Regions from separate parts of the Homo sapiens genome. Here region 2 is linked to region 1. Evidence: promoter capture Hi-C in human tissues and cell types (Jung and others, 2019). All regions are on one chromosome and are shown on one strand. The core of a region is centred on a gene start or on the middle of the fragment in contact, and the rest is flanking DNA. Distances in the headings are between cores, read along the strand shown. Region 1 holds the start of NBEA (neurobeachin). Region 2 has its middle 130 kb from the start of LINC02343.

Region 1 (7,522 bases), core at 2,929-5,428:
GTATAGAAGGAATGCTCCCAAATTTACACATAGACTAATAAGACAATAAATTATTTGCATGATATAATCAGGATTAAGAAATTCCTAGCAGATGAAATTTAATGGATAATTAAATAGAAAATTTGTATTAAATAATCTTTTTTTTTTGTTTTGAAACAGAGTCTTGGTTTCTTGCCCAGGCTAGAGTGCAGTGGCATGATCTCTGCTCACTGCAACTTCTGCTTCCCGGGTTCAACTGATCCTCCTGCCTCAGCCTCCTGAGTAGCTGGAATTACAGGTGGCCACCACCACACCTGGCTAGTTTTTGTATTTTTAGTAGAGATGGGGTTTCACCGTGTTTTCCAGGCTGATCTTCAACACCTGACCTCAAGTGACCCACCTGCCTTGGCCTCCCGAAGTGTTGGGATTACAAGCATGGACCACCATGCCTGGCCTTAAAATAAAATTTAAATTTAAATTGATATGTTCAATTTTGTACTTATATCTCAAAATCTACATGTAAAGCTACAAATTGTAGATATGCTGCTGCTAAAAAAACAGTAATAACAAAAGAAAACGCCTTAGTTTTTCAGGTCGATAATTATTTCATGCAGAAGCTATTGTGATTAATAAAGTAAAACTCTTTATTAATCCTAATTAATCCTGATGGTCTAATCTGTCCATCAAGATGGACCTTTACGAAGATTACCCATGTAAGGATGGACTGGAGAAGAGTGAGTGTGGAAAAGAGGAGACCAGGTATGAAGTGACTGGGATCTGAATCAGGGTGGCTGCAGTGAGGATGAAAAAAGTGGGATGAATGCGAGACCTATTACCAGGAAGAATGGGCAGATCTGTAACTAATTTAATGGTGATAATAATTTCAATATGAGAGGAGAATGGAACCAAAATTATTTGAGAACCTACTACGTGCCAAATGTGAATCATTACTACATTACACGAATCATTAGTGTCATGTTAAGAAAAAAATCCAAAACCAAAACAAACCAAACAGATCTAATTTGATTTGGGGCAACATTAACAGGAGCTATATTGCTAAAGGTTGAGGGTGAGGTAAGAATTTCCCTCTGTTTTATACAGGTCTAAACCCACATTGAATTTGGAGTATTCTGTTCAGATAAAGTTTAGAGGAAAGCAAGAAATGTGTTCTTTAAAGAACAGGTGAAGGAAACGGGAATAGTGTGGAGAACGGCTGTTTCCATCCATTCATTTTTGAACATATTTATTCAATGTAAATTATGTCAGGCAAGGTAGGTGCAAAAAAAAAAAAAACCCAAAAATAATGACACAAAATAACTGTGGGTATTTTCCGGCAGCCAATGAAGGGAAACATTATTGATTGCCACTTACTACTACATTAAGTACGTTAAATGTATTAGCTCCTTTAATCCTATAAAGTAGTATTATCATCCTTACTTTGGGTTGAGTAAACTGAAGCTTTGAAGCTAAAGTCATTTTCCCAACATCACACATATAAGTGGTGGTGGAACTAGAATCTAAATCCAGCTTCCATTGAATCTGGGGCATGACTTCTCAACCTCTCTGCAATATTGCTTCCTGAAACTCAGATTCACAGGTTTCTTATCTTTGAATGATTGTCCTTAGGAAGTATGGGTATGCAAAAATGCATACAAAATTAATATTCACCACATAAAATATATTTTTTAATCTGGAGATTTAAAAATATACATATTGGGTATCTTCTATTATTATGTAGCTTTTCTTTCAAAATATTGTTAATGTAAATGTAAAGTTATTTGCACATTTTCCGGGAAAAGGTTTTGTAGGCCAAAAAGAAATAGACCTGTTGACTTTTCTGAACTTTATGCTTTTGGGATGGTATGGAAGACATATAACTGTGCAATTATGCAGACTTGTATGTGGTTATAATTGGTATTACATGTGTTTATAGGTCATGCAACACACATGCCTGTATACTAAGGACACAAAGACACATTGACTATATGCTAGCTGCTCAGCTGAAATTATTTTATGGAATTCTTACTTCCCTATGAAACACATATTATCATTCCTACTTAAGGAACCAGGAGACTGAAACTCAAATAGCTTGAGTAGACTGCAAAGGTAGTAAGTTGTAACTATGACTCAAAGAATCATGCACTTTCCACAGTATCATAGCGCCTGCGAGGAGCTGATTGTCTACTGGAGAAAGATTTTTAATTGGTAAGCTCTTTTAAATATCTCTGAAATTGAATTAAGTAGGCAAAAGAAGTGGAGTTTTCCTACTTAGAAATGGTGATATTATCTTTACCCACTCACTATCTTCACTAAGAAAAATGAGCAGAAAAATACAACCAACTGCATATACATACTACTTAAGAAAAAATACAAGAAAAATCAAAATGGAAATGTTAAAAATGATGTTAAGCTATTCATTCAGAAAGGAAATAGAAAGTTCAGGTTGTCACTGTCTCTCAAAGTACTCATGCAAGAAGTCTAAAAATAGCAAAAGGTAGAACCTGCTGCCATATAGATATATGCACAGTGGGTAAAAAAACTTAGTGTGACAACCTTTCAGTCTAGATTTATGTATTTTACAAAGATATCATTTTAAATTTGCAAATGAAACAGTACTCTTAAAAGCAGATGATACTCACTTGGGACAGACAAAAATGTAGTAGAAGGATATAAACGTTACAGGATTTTTCAATTATATAGTATATCTCAAGTCATACTATTATGACTTGTATGTTTTGTAAATTTCCCGTACAGTTTCAAGCATTCTAGCATTTTATAATTCAATTGCCATTTAATTTAAATGGACATGCTAGTTACCACTGCTTTCAGAAGTGTTTGCTTAACTACTTTAACAATTCAATCACTTTGGTGCAAGTTTAAACAAACAGACATGCAACCAAGAATTCATCCTAAGTACTGGTTTTGAGGAACTTTTTTATAACCTGTGGTACTTAGAATTTTACCGTGTTCCCATATCCTGGGAGTTAACTTGACTGGCAGGTCCAATTAAATATGAATAATAACAAAACTGATTATGGTGGATTTGTATATTGACCTTTTTCATTTGAGAGGACAATTAAAACGATCTGAATATACCTCAAGATACCTAATATTTCTGGTGACTTGCAATAATCTTTATTGAAAAGGGAAGACCTCATGAAATATTAAAGAAAATTATATCATTCCTTTCAAGGAACAGTCATGCCTATTTAGTTTTAATTCAATACTAACAGCAAGATTACTGTGTACATTTTAATTTTTAAAAATTAAAGGTTTATTTTTTGTCTCGTATCTGTGCAGACATAGATATGTACTTTTCTCACAGACAAGGCTGGCAGTGAGAATCACCCATGTTTTTAGATAATTTCGAAAGTCCTCTGAATTGTACGTGCCTGTGAAAAAAGGAAACATTAATAATTGGCATCATACCTGAGGATTGTCAGGATTTTGAAAGTGTGGGATTTGTCGTTCCCACCAAACTACCCCACAGTGTCACACACTGCAGTCTTTTTAGGCTGGGAGGCGAGTTCAAGAGCTGTTTGTTGTTCCGAGCTTGATCCAGAGAGGATCACTGTTTGACAAGTTCTATTTTAAGTCGTGCCTGAGTGTGCAGGTGTCAGCCTCTTTCATGGCTGTAGAAAAAGCACCATTACACTCCGTCTGTATTCTTCCCCCGACAATGCAGGATCGCCCCCCCGCCCCCCCGCGCGTTTGTTTCTGCTTTGCCAGCCACTTTTTCTTTGGGAAATTCTAGGGAGGGCAGGCGGACAGGACTGCGAGGAAGGGCGAGGAGGGGCAGAAAGAGGTCGTCTGCCACTCCCCTACCTTACAAGGCACGTGGCACTGGCAGTAGCAGCAGCTGGATGCAACAACTGAGATGAGGAACCTCCTCCCAGCAAGAGGATATTGAGAGAAGGAGGAGGTGGCAGCGAAGGCAAGACATGCACACTGTGTCCTTCCCCAAAGGGAGAATCCGCCCTCAAGGGAAAAACCACAAGGAAGCCACTACCCGCCCCGCCTCTGCCAGCTTGCCCCAGTGTCTGGCAGCAGTCCCCATGCACCTGCTCACCTGTCTATCCGTTCGGGGTGGTTGGGGGAGGGACGAGGGGTGTCGGGGTGGGTGGGTGGGAAGAGAAGGAGGGCAGGGCAAAAGAGGGGGTGCACCGAGGGCTCCGCCCCCCCGGAGGCTGTGCGCAGGCGCAGTGGCTGCTACCGCAGGCAGGGGGCGGCAACATGGCGGAGTGAGCGGCGGCGTCGGGGCTTCACAACAACAGTGGTGGCCGTAGCAGCGGCGGCAGCAGCGTCAATAGCATCGGCCACAGCCTGAGCTTCAGCACCGGCCAGCGTCGTGGCCAGCTGCTCGCGTCCTCGGGCTTCTCGGAGCGGCTGCAGCATCTCCGCGGGGGGCGGGCCGGGCCGGACAGACCGGGAGAGGGAGAGAGCAGAGGCAGCGGCGGCGGCAGCGGCAGCGGCAGCGGCACACCTGCTGGGCGGGCACAGCCGCTTGCCCGGCAGCGGTTAGCGGTACCGCCACCGCCGAGAATAAGCCTGCGGATCCCCCGCCGCCTCCGCGGGGGAGAGCGCCGGAGCGGGCCGGGCTGAGGCGCAGGCGGGGAGCGGGCCCGGCGCCGCGGCGCTGGTGGATGCTGGGGCTCCGAGGCGACGGCCGGGGGGCGGGGGCCGAGGCAGGTATAACGGTACCGGCGGCGGCAGCGCCGCTGCTCTTCCCTTCTCCTCAGGAGGGGGGCCAATGGCTAGCGAGAAGCCGGGCCCGGGCCCGGGGCTCGAGCCTCAGCCCGTGGGGCTCATTGCCGTCGGGGCCGCTGGCGGAGGCGGCGGGGGCAGCGGTGGTGGCGGCACCGGGGGCAGCGGGATGGGGGAGCTAAGGGGGGCGTCCGGCTCCGGCTCGGTGATGCTCCCCGCGGGGATGATTAACCCTTCGGTGCCGATCCGCAACATCCGGATGAAATTCGCAGTGTTGATTGGACTCATACAGGTCGGAGAGGTCAGCAACAGGGACATCGTGGAGACGGTGCTCAACCTGGTAAGGAAAAGGCGTGCTCTCAATCTGCTTCCCCAGTCCCCACATACACCGTCCCCAGCGCCTTTCCCTCCCACCCTTCACCCCCAGGGTCACACGCGCCGCGCGTCCCTGGGAGCGCAGAGCGTTCAGCCGGTATTGCCCAGCGGGTGACCTGCCTGCGCGCTGCTAGAGCCACGCCACCTCCCTCCTCTCCTCTTTCTGGTCCTCTCCTGCCACCTGAGCGCAGTGCCCAACTTAACACCGCTTCTTCTCACTTTTTAGGACCGCGAGTAACCCAGTACCCGCGGTGAAGGTTTTGGGTCGACTTTAGAGTTTAGTTAGGAGGTGAGGAGGCCTCCTGTTCTCTGGGGTTCTTTTTCTCACACTTAATTGTCCTTGGTGTCGCTCTCCGAGGATGACAGCCTTGCCCCTGGAGCCTAAATTCCCCCGTGCTGCTGAAATGTGAGAAGCGCATTAGCTTCCAACTTGAGCAGCTGGGGTGTGATGTTTTCGAAGGAGACAGAAAATGATGCAGTTTTGCATCTGTCTTTAAATATTCCAAGGCCATGATGGAGAGTGTTGTGTCTGTATCCATCCCCCTCCATCTCAGAAGCAGCCGTCCCTTCTTTGTAATATTGCCCTGAATATACTGATCTCTTAGTCATTTTTTGTGCACACAAGGTGTGTGAGGACACCAAATCACACAGGTTGATTTCTGTGGTTACTTTCAGTAGTGTGGCATGTGGGTAAAGACTAAAGGAAAGGTTTTAAACGCAGCCCTAGGTTTTGGTTCCTTTCATGGTAAGAAAGAGTTACTGCAGAAGTGTGTATGACTTAATGTTTTGCGCTATCTACAGAGAGGCTCAGAAGCGTTTAAGATGTCAGGGAAAGAAATGGAAAGAAGGAGAGGAGAATCATACATTGAGGATAATTAACAGTAGTTCATATTTAGTGCTTTGTAAATGGAGGTTTTGTTTTGTTTTGTTTTGTTTTTAAATGCAGCCAAGCTTTTTAAACAGTTTTCTCTGCAATAGATCTAGTCTTTGACATACTGTAAGGTTGGGCTTTGGGAGGCAAGACATAAATCGAGAGCAATCAGTTGAGTATTGTATTTGGTGTGGGGTCACAGGAATATAACAATATGCTTACAGGGGTACTTTGTAACACCCATGCAGTCATTTTTCAGCTAAGCAATTATTTTTACTTACTCTATTGGAAAACTGAGAGAAAGCTGCAGCTACATCAGTGGTGTCCTGAGACATGCATTAGATAATGTCTACGGTTTATGAACCTCGTAAATGCACAGAAAAGTTGAAGCTGTTTTTTTCCTTTTGCTAGTGTGTCAGGTCAAAGGAGATTATCTGTCTTTGTTATATTCATTGCTGTTTAAAACAAAACACCTCTTTTTACTTTTTTGTACCTTTCAAATAAATCATCATGAAAAGTCAGTGTAAGTTTGAGGGAATGTCACTAAGTTGATATAACCAAGTTCTTTTCAGAACACTACTAGAAATACAGTTTTCTTGAGTTTTAATTTTAACTAGCTGCAAATAAGAGGTCAGTACTTGCCATTTCTTTTTAAAAGAAGATAAATCTCAAACTGTTAGTATGTTAGCAGGTAACTGTATTTCTGTAATTTAAAGGAACACATTTTTAGTTGCAGTTTTGATCTAACCAATATCATTTTTAAGTTAGATTATATTAGGCTATTTTAGTAAGTATTCCTATGCTTACTTAATACATTTTAACCTGGTAAGAGGCAGTAGAGCTTTCACAACCTGGAAACTGATTTGAATGTATAACCAGTTTGGACTCTGCAGCAGTAGCAATGTGTGCTGAATCAGTTCTTAACAGATGGGGTTTTTTAGATATACGGTAGACTAAGAAAGGAAGTGAAATGTTTCTCTTGAGATAAAAAAGAAATTTAACTCTTCAGAGCAATGAAAATCTGACATGAAGTTTCAGTATGCAGACGTTATTTTAGAGAACTTTACCATTAAGCTTAGAGTCACTAGAAATAAAGTAATACTGAGATAGTATATCCCCAAATCTACCTAAGATTTTGTAACTGCAATGATATTTGGAATTTAAAGAGTTAGGTTTAAAATTTCTTTGTATGTATTTAAAGAATGCAATAGATTTTTAAATAGAAACTTTTGGAGAAAAGAATAAATGACAAAAGGAGCTGTTTATTACTAAGTTGTTAATTATATTAATTGTGGAGTATAAATTAGTCATTTGAAGTGTAATTTTCTTGAACTGTAGATTTAGGGCTTTATTGTCCAATACACTCATGAAAATGTCATATGAAAATTTAAGTGGATTCTCAAAAATATGTGGAAGTCATGGGCATTTAAAAAACTGATTATCAAACTTAATTCTATTTATTTAGTAAGTAAACCAATAAAATTCATATAGGACACTCAGTGACTCGTTAGAGTTTGGAAACCTTTAATATTAAATCTAAAATGATTTTTTAAAATTTTCAGTTTTAGTTTAACACATTAAATAAAAATGTAA
Region 2 (7,522 bases), core at 3,644-6,143, 730 kb before region 1:
ATTCTAAATTCTGGATGCTTTTTAAGTATGGAAATATTCTCTTTGTGCTGCCAAATTTCTAAACAAATGCCTGGTGGAAAATTACACCTTAGCCAGAATAATAACCCAAGTAAATAGGTAATAATGGGTTTGTATTTTGCATATTAGCTTGACATACAGCGTTAAAATGTCCCAGGACATTAAATACTGAGTTTTTATAAAGAGAATTGAAATAGGCCTAATAGCCATGATTTATCCAAGAGACTGATGCATTACAGAAGAGTATTTTTTATATGTGAAAAAGAAATTTGTGCCCTGTTAGAATGCCAGGTATTCTCAAGTTGAAAATACACTAATTTGTAGTAAGCAACTGAATACGTATAGAATCTGGGGATGCAAACCTTGGTGGTCCACTATGTGCCTAGGGCAACTTAAAGCCAATCAGAAAGCAAGATGTGTGCTTACTGCAAAATTTTTCCTGATTTTGCTTTTTTGAAAATAAGAAAAAAAGTCTTCTTCAAAATATGCATTTTCTTTATTTGCACATTTTGTGAGTTACACTAAAAAGGGAATGGTCTCTAACAAAATGTGTTTTAAATGTTAAGGCCAAGTACAGCCATGTGCACTACCACAGACTTTCTTAGTCCTCAGAGGCAATTTTCTTCTTTGTGTCCATTGATAAACTCCTAAGGCTGTTGGGTAAGACTTGATGCTTCCCGTGACCTAGGCTCTGAGGATGTCTTAGATTGGCAGACTCTGGTAGATATGGTGGCTTAAAGATGGCTGCAGATTATTTTCTAGTTCTCCCACTGAGCGGAAGAGCCCAATATTCCTCTATCTGAATCTGGTCTAACCTTTGAAATGCTTGATTAATAAAGTATGGAGGAAGTGAGGCTTATGCTATTTCAGTCTAGCACTTAAGAGGATCAGAAGCTTCCACCTTGCTTTCTGGAACCACTGATTAAGCTGAAGCAATCTTTCTCCAAGTAATCCCAGGCCGCATGGAGAGGCCACATGTAGGTGCTCTTGTGAACAGGTGAAATTGCTCCAAGGGTCAGCATCAACTTCCAGCCATGTAAATGAGTCCAGTGACCTTGGACATCCAGCCCAGTCAAGCCTTCAGCTGACTCTGCCCCAGTCACCATCAGACAGACATGGCATAAAGAACACCAAGCAAGAACTGCTCAGCTGAGCCCAGGTTTTCCACAGAACCATGGGGATAATCATGAATTATCATTTGCACCATTAACTTGTGCAGCAAATTGTACTGTAGCTATAGATAACTAAAGCAGTAGGGGCAATGAAAATGTATCATAAATTTGAGAGATTTTTGCCTCCTCCTTTCCTGTTTCCCTCCCATCTTCCCTTAGTCACAAGTGAATGGGAACATCTAGCACAAGTATGGTCAGAGAACAAGCCTCAGATAAACACACTTGAAAGACATAGTAGAGAATTTAGAGACCGCTGATACCCATTGGTGCCTACAGCTTGTAGCACATAGTATTGTGAGATCCTGGGCTCTGGAGTCAGAGCTACCTTAGTTAAAACCTAGCACAAATCCCTACCAGCCATGGGTTCCTAGGTAATTTACATCATCTTTCTGTGTTCAGGTTTCCTCACCTAAACCGTAATGGACAAAGTGTATGTAAATCTCTTTAGAATAATAGTGCTGACATATAAGAAGAGCTCAATAAACCTTAGTTATTATTGTGGTAGTTGTTTTTGCTGTGATAGTGACAATGATACCTCGACACTCATAATTTGTATTTCCTATGCCAATTTCTGGCCTTTTTTATGTCAGACTCTGGCTTCTTTGAATCAAATAACAAACACTTCATGTTATCTTGTGGCCTTTGATTCAATTTGATTATATCAGTGTTCGTATAAGGCTTTTTATTTTATTTTATTATTTATTTATTTATTTACTTATTTTATTGAGACGGAGTCTCGCTCTGTCGCCCAGGCTGGAGTGCAGTGGCGCGATCTCAGCTCACTGCAAGCTCCGCCTCCCAGGTTCACGCCATTCTCCTGCCTCAGCTTCCCGAGTAGCTGGGACTATAGGCGCCCACCACCACGCCCGGCTAATTTTTTTGTATTTTTAGTAGAGACGGGGTTTCACCGTGTTAGCCAGGATGGTCTCGATCTCCTGACCTCGTGATCCACCCACCTCGACCTCCCAAAGTGCTGGGATTACAGGCTTGAGCCACCGCGCCCGGCCAAGGCTTTTTAAATATGTCATTTTGTATACAATATTTCAAATATATTTTATGTTTGTCGTTTTTATTTTTTAAGTGATTAAATACCAGAAAAATAAAATGCTTATAATGATAATACAGTAGAAATTTCAACTAAACTCTGCTTAATTAATTAATGGGATTAATCATCACTCTCTATGCTGCCTGGAATTGTAATGACTGATGTGATGACTGATGTTTAGGGCTGAGGCTGGCCTGTGCTATATCTAAAATTCTGCATATCAAGAATCAGTGGTGTTTGTTCACAAACCTATTTATGTCAATGTTCCTTATCATTATAATTACATAATTTAATCAAATATTATGCAATTTGTAATCTGTTAGTGTTAAAATAGTATTATTTGTATAACAAATAAATGGAATATTTTGAAAAGAATATAGACAAGTCACTAAAATAATATCAAATTAGGTGAAAGTGACACAACTGTAAAAAACTGGAAAGATAATCTAGAAGTATTTGGCATGCAGTTTCCTTCACAAGTATTTTTAAGTTCCTGCTGCTCTTTAAAGAAACAGAAACTGGAAATGGTTGGGGTGGGGGTGCAATATAGATATGATTTAGGAACAAAGTGAATTCATTCAACGAAAAGCCTTGGCTCTATACCAAAAGATTGGCAAGTTAATGTAGGTTTTCGTTTCAAGCTATTTTTCACCACTTTAATCAACTGTATTTATTAACAGACCAGTCCCTAATCCTAGTTGTGTCTGATAAATGGACTTACCAGTGGTATGTGGGTAAATGCTCAACAAGCAATTCTCTGAGGATGGGAAGGACACCTTGATTTGTAGTATTTACCAGCTCCCATGGTGTAAATATTATCACCATGGTTGATTTCAAGTTGTCATTGTGATATCAATCAGGTCACATAATTCCTAAAGATTTAACAGGGACTCTCTCAGGTTGGTACTATTCCAGAAGAGGAGTCATCAGGGGATACTGAGAGTAGCCCATGTTTAGAGTCAGTGTTCATTTGAGTTCAACTACCTGACCAGTTGTTCTTCAGTGAAGAGAACTCACAAAACCTAAAAGACACACATGAAACATATGATTGTGGAAACATTATCAAATGTCATAAAAATGATAAGTTAAAACCAAGCTATATAAAATTTCTATGATCCAGACACAGAGTAAATTTCCATTGAAATGTTGATCAAGATTCTGCTTGATACAAAATATAAAACCAGTATTCAACCTTCTTTAGCAACATTTTTCAGCATAAAAAAATGTATTCATTATTCTGGCAAAATGAGGGCTGGTATGTTTCCTAAATCTCACCTCTTATTAACTTTGGGAAGTGAATTTATGTTGTTGGATGTTAACGTTTGATTTATTAGTTATATTTTAAATAATCATGTAATATTGCATGACATTTGGGGATTTTCTTATATTTTTAGAGTTACAGGTACGGAAACACCACTCATGAGAATATCTACTTTTTATATTCAACATTCATATATACATATTTTCAGGAATGAATTATGTACAAAAGTAAGAAATGGATTATAATATTGTGAAAGGTCCCTTGTCTTTGAAGGATTAATTACTATACCCTTGGGTTCTGATTTAATAGAGTACAATGTTCTGATTTAATAGAGTACAATGATCAAGGAAAAGCAAAGAAGTTCCATAGAAAGAAAACTACTCCTATGAGCTTCTGCAAAGTCACACAGTACATTGTTAAGGGATACTGCTGACTCACCAGCCTTCTGCTTTCATTTGTTCTTCTGTAAGCATATGCATTATCCAAGCTTTCAGGAGAAATGTCACTAACAAATATTCTAACTATGTCACTCTATAAGAGTTTTAATATGAAAAGTCCCCAAGGCTAAATAAAGATGCTGCAGGTGGCACTATTTATCATGACGTACTTCTGAAGCGTAGTGATATTGGGCCACCTTACTGAACTCTAATGAACAATGTTCCCAAGGCAGGAGAGCTCAGGGATGACCGGAATCCATGGCTTAGCAATCCCACTCTTCTTTTGCTAAACAGAAAATGAGATTGTGCTCCTCTTCCATAGATAAGAAAACCCTCCCTCTACAACAGCCCTTACTCCCCTCTCCAGGCTCAAACCAAAGTGAAAGACCAGGAATAAATGCTAACACTGAAGTATGTTTTAACATTCAAAGACCTTTTTGCCACTAACATACAAAGACTCTGTGTGGAGTGGAGGTGTTTCATCCATAGGATCATAGGGTTGATTGTTTTTTAGATGGTGAAGTGGAAATCTAGAGAGCTGGAGTGACTTGCTCCTTCAGGACTGCCATGTTTAGTGGCAAGGTGTCTTGATACTTAGTGTAGTACTTGCTTCTACTTTTTTATTCCAGTGGAAGAGATGCCCACTTATGTGAACTACCTGGGACTGATTTTCTTCTCTCTCTTTTATATTTTCATGGAATAAGGGTTCTGCTACCCCAAGATACAATTAACACTCAGAGAGGCTTCAACTTATACAAGTTCACTCAGATAGTCAGTAGCAGAGTTGAGATTTCAACCTAGGTTTACCTGATTTCAAACTCCATGGACTTTCAACTACACATATTAACTCTAAGAATAACCGTGGTCCTGGTGACCTGCCTGCAAGCGTCTCAGGGTGGGATGGCAGTCATGGTGATGTACAGGCACTGCCCACTTGTCTCCAGCATGTGTACAGGCCTTGCCTTTCTTTCCAGGTCTCCCTGAGTTATGCCTCAGCTCACTAAAGCAAAAACTTCACTTCTTTCTCCACCTGGGTAAGTTTTCAATGGCCCTGCACAGAAGTTTAAGTTTTGAAATTCCATCTTTATTCTATGCCACATGTTTTAGTCTGTTCTCAGGCTGCTAATAAAGATATACCTGAGACTGGGTAATTTATAAAGGAAAGAGGTTTAATTGATTCCCATTTTCACATAGCTGGGGAGGCCTCACAATCATTGTGGATGGCAAAGCAGGAGCAAAGTCATGTCTTACTGGCAGCAGGCAAGAGGGCGTGTGCAGGGGTCCTCCCATGTATAAAACCATCAGATCTCATGAGACTTATTCACTACCACGAGAACAGTATGTGGGAAACCACCCCCATGATTCAGTTATCTCCCACCAGGTCCCTCCCATGACACGTGGGAATTATGGGAGCTACAACTCAAGGTGAGATTTGGGTGGGGACACAGCCAAACCATATCACCACAGCTTGGGAAGGAGGCAAGCATATGGCTGGGCCATGGTCTGAGAACAAAGATTCTTTCCTTCACCCCAGATCTCCTGAGGATTTCCTGCATATCATGCCATGGATATTGCCTTTGGTTACAATCTAGAGAATTTTTCTCATCGCTTTACATACGTAAAATTACAGCCAAGTTAGGAAATCGGTATGTGAGTCTAGACAAATGTATTTTGGAAATATGTAAAATATTTCCCAAATATTTGGAAATCATTCCAATGTTCTTTTTACCAGTTTATTTCTCTGAAATTCTTCAGAAATAAATAGGAAAAATGTATTGAGCATGCTTCAGAAAAATAAATAAGGCAAATCAAAAGGTTTAGTGACTTCTAATACAACATGGCCAAGAGGGCGCAGGGGGCACAAACTATGCCCTTCCATTAATTGTATCCTGTGTAGCATTCACTGAAACACCCAAAGGCTCTCTATTATAACAGTAAAAAGGATGCATTCGGTTAGAGTTAACTATGTTCTAACTAAACAGGATTTCTAGCTTGAAAACTAAGCAAGAATTCTTGATCAATTTGGAGTTTTAATCAGGCCTTCCAGCATTAGGAGTAGATTCTGATGGAGGCAGCACGAAGTTGTCCTACATCAATGGCTGAAGAATGCTCCTTGGTGTGTGTGTGTGTGTGTGTGTGTGTGTGTGTGTGTATGTGTGTCTAACAGAGGAGAGAGAGGAAAAGGGAGGTGAACGGTTGCAATGGGCATGGCATCTCCCCAGATCCTGCCTCCTGTCCTGTTCCCTGTCCTTGGCCCATGTCTATTTTGTGCTGGAAGCACAGGCACAGGACAGTGGCTCCCCTAATCAAGATGGGGAGGGAATCAGAGCCCTCAACATAATTTGTGGAAAGGGGATAGGTACAGAGAGAGTAATGGATGGAATGTGTTTCTAGGTTTCCCTACAAATTTTAAGAAACAATGGCTACTGATTAATAATAAAACACACAAAAAAACTAATAATAAAACACAAATTACTGGCTTCATTTTTCTTTTTTTCAGCTTCTGTTAGCAAAATTGTTTGCGTTGAGGTGCACATGAGAAATACCCAAACTGTTTGCCTACCGTGAGTCCTCTTGGGACTCGCTGGCCGCCTGAATGTATTTCTTGTTTCCCAGGAGGCCAATGATTTGCACAACACATCCTTCCCCAGACCCCAAAGCCAAACATTGACATATTCCAGCAATCAGCTCACATTGCCTCCATCCAGGAAGCTTTCTTTGTGCACTGAACTCGAAGAATCACTGAGTGCCCTCAGATAAACTTAACACTACTCATCTTTCTCAGTTTAAGATGTGTACTGTGGAACGGAAGTGTTTTGTTAATGCTTAGCATGACATGAAAGCTGTTTCTGCATTTTCCCATCGTACATTTCTACTGTCTTTAGCTCAGCATCTTTATGCGATGGGGAGAGATCCCACACAATGCACAGATGGAGTGGGAATGGAGGCAAATTTCTATGGGGCTCAAAACTCATTCTGCCATATGCTGTTCTCTCTCCTTCCGAATTCTGTTGAGCGCACCACCGCTGGTTGGCACAGAGTGACAAAGATGGAGAGGCTTTAATCAGTTGAGTCTTCCATTTCTAGCCATTTCAATAACTCCTTTAGGTAAAAAGGCCAGTGTCAATTCGAGTTATTTATATGAATAAAAATCCTGTTTCTCTCCTCTGTAAATTAATTGTTCCAGGAATTCTGTGTGATCCCGAAAATGTAAGCATTTAGAATTAGCCTGTTTTATGTAATACAGAAATGATTTTAAAAGTCTGACAAATTAAGGTATAGTTTTATTAGCTGTCAGTCAGTCTTTCTTTCCTAGAATGTTCCAGTGAGAAATGACATTCTTTATGTCTCTGCACAACTTAAATTACAGGCCTGCTTATTTTTTATTTTCAACATAAATAAAATTTATTATTATCAGAGCAGTAGTGAATCCCAGCTTTTAGTACTTATCAGACTTGTATAGAGAGAAAGAATTTTGTTCTTATGCTTTCTGGGAGCTTTTTGAAACCTTTTATTCCAGCTTTGATTTTTTTTATTACTTTTTTATTTCCTTCTACGATTTTTCTTTCATAAGTTGTGTGATAATGTA

Evidence for each region. The method cuts DNA at HindIII sites, captures the fragments that hold promoters and counts their contacts. A contact is called where the count stands out against the background at its distance.
Region 2: a fragment that was not itself captured here is called in contact with the fragment with the promoter of NBEA in region 1 in 1 of the 25 tissues and cell types used here (dorsolateral prefrontal cortex).

The regions. Positions count from the first base shown.
Region 1 is chr13:34,938,092-34,945,613 of GRCh38, forward strand. It overlaps NBEA (neurobeachin), which reads left to right and starts at 4,179. Exons shown (of 59, transcript NM_001385012.1): 1 at 4,179-5,023. The coding sequence starts at 4,730. It overlaps LOC124903231 (a long non-coding RNA gene), which reads right to left and starts at 4,099. Exons shown (of 2, transcript XR_007063908.1): 1 at 4,049-4,099; 2 at 3,230-3,611. RefSeq lists an enhancer at 3,761-3,870 and silencers at 4,041-4,110, 4,551-4,670, 5,730-5,819. The HindIII fragment of the contact is 6,257 bases long and covers 250-6,506 here.
Region 2 is chr13:34,210,957-34,218,478 of GRCh38, forward strand. No RefSeq gene overlaps it. Among named protein-coding and RNA genes, the nearest start is that of LINC02343, 130 kb to the right of the region's middle. The HindIII fragment of the contact is 4,892 bases long and covers 2,448-7,339 here.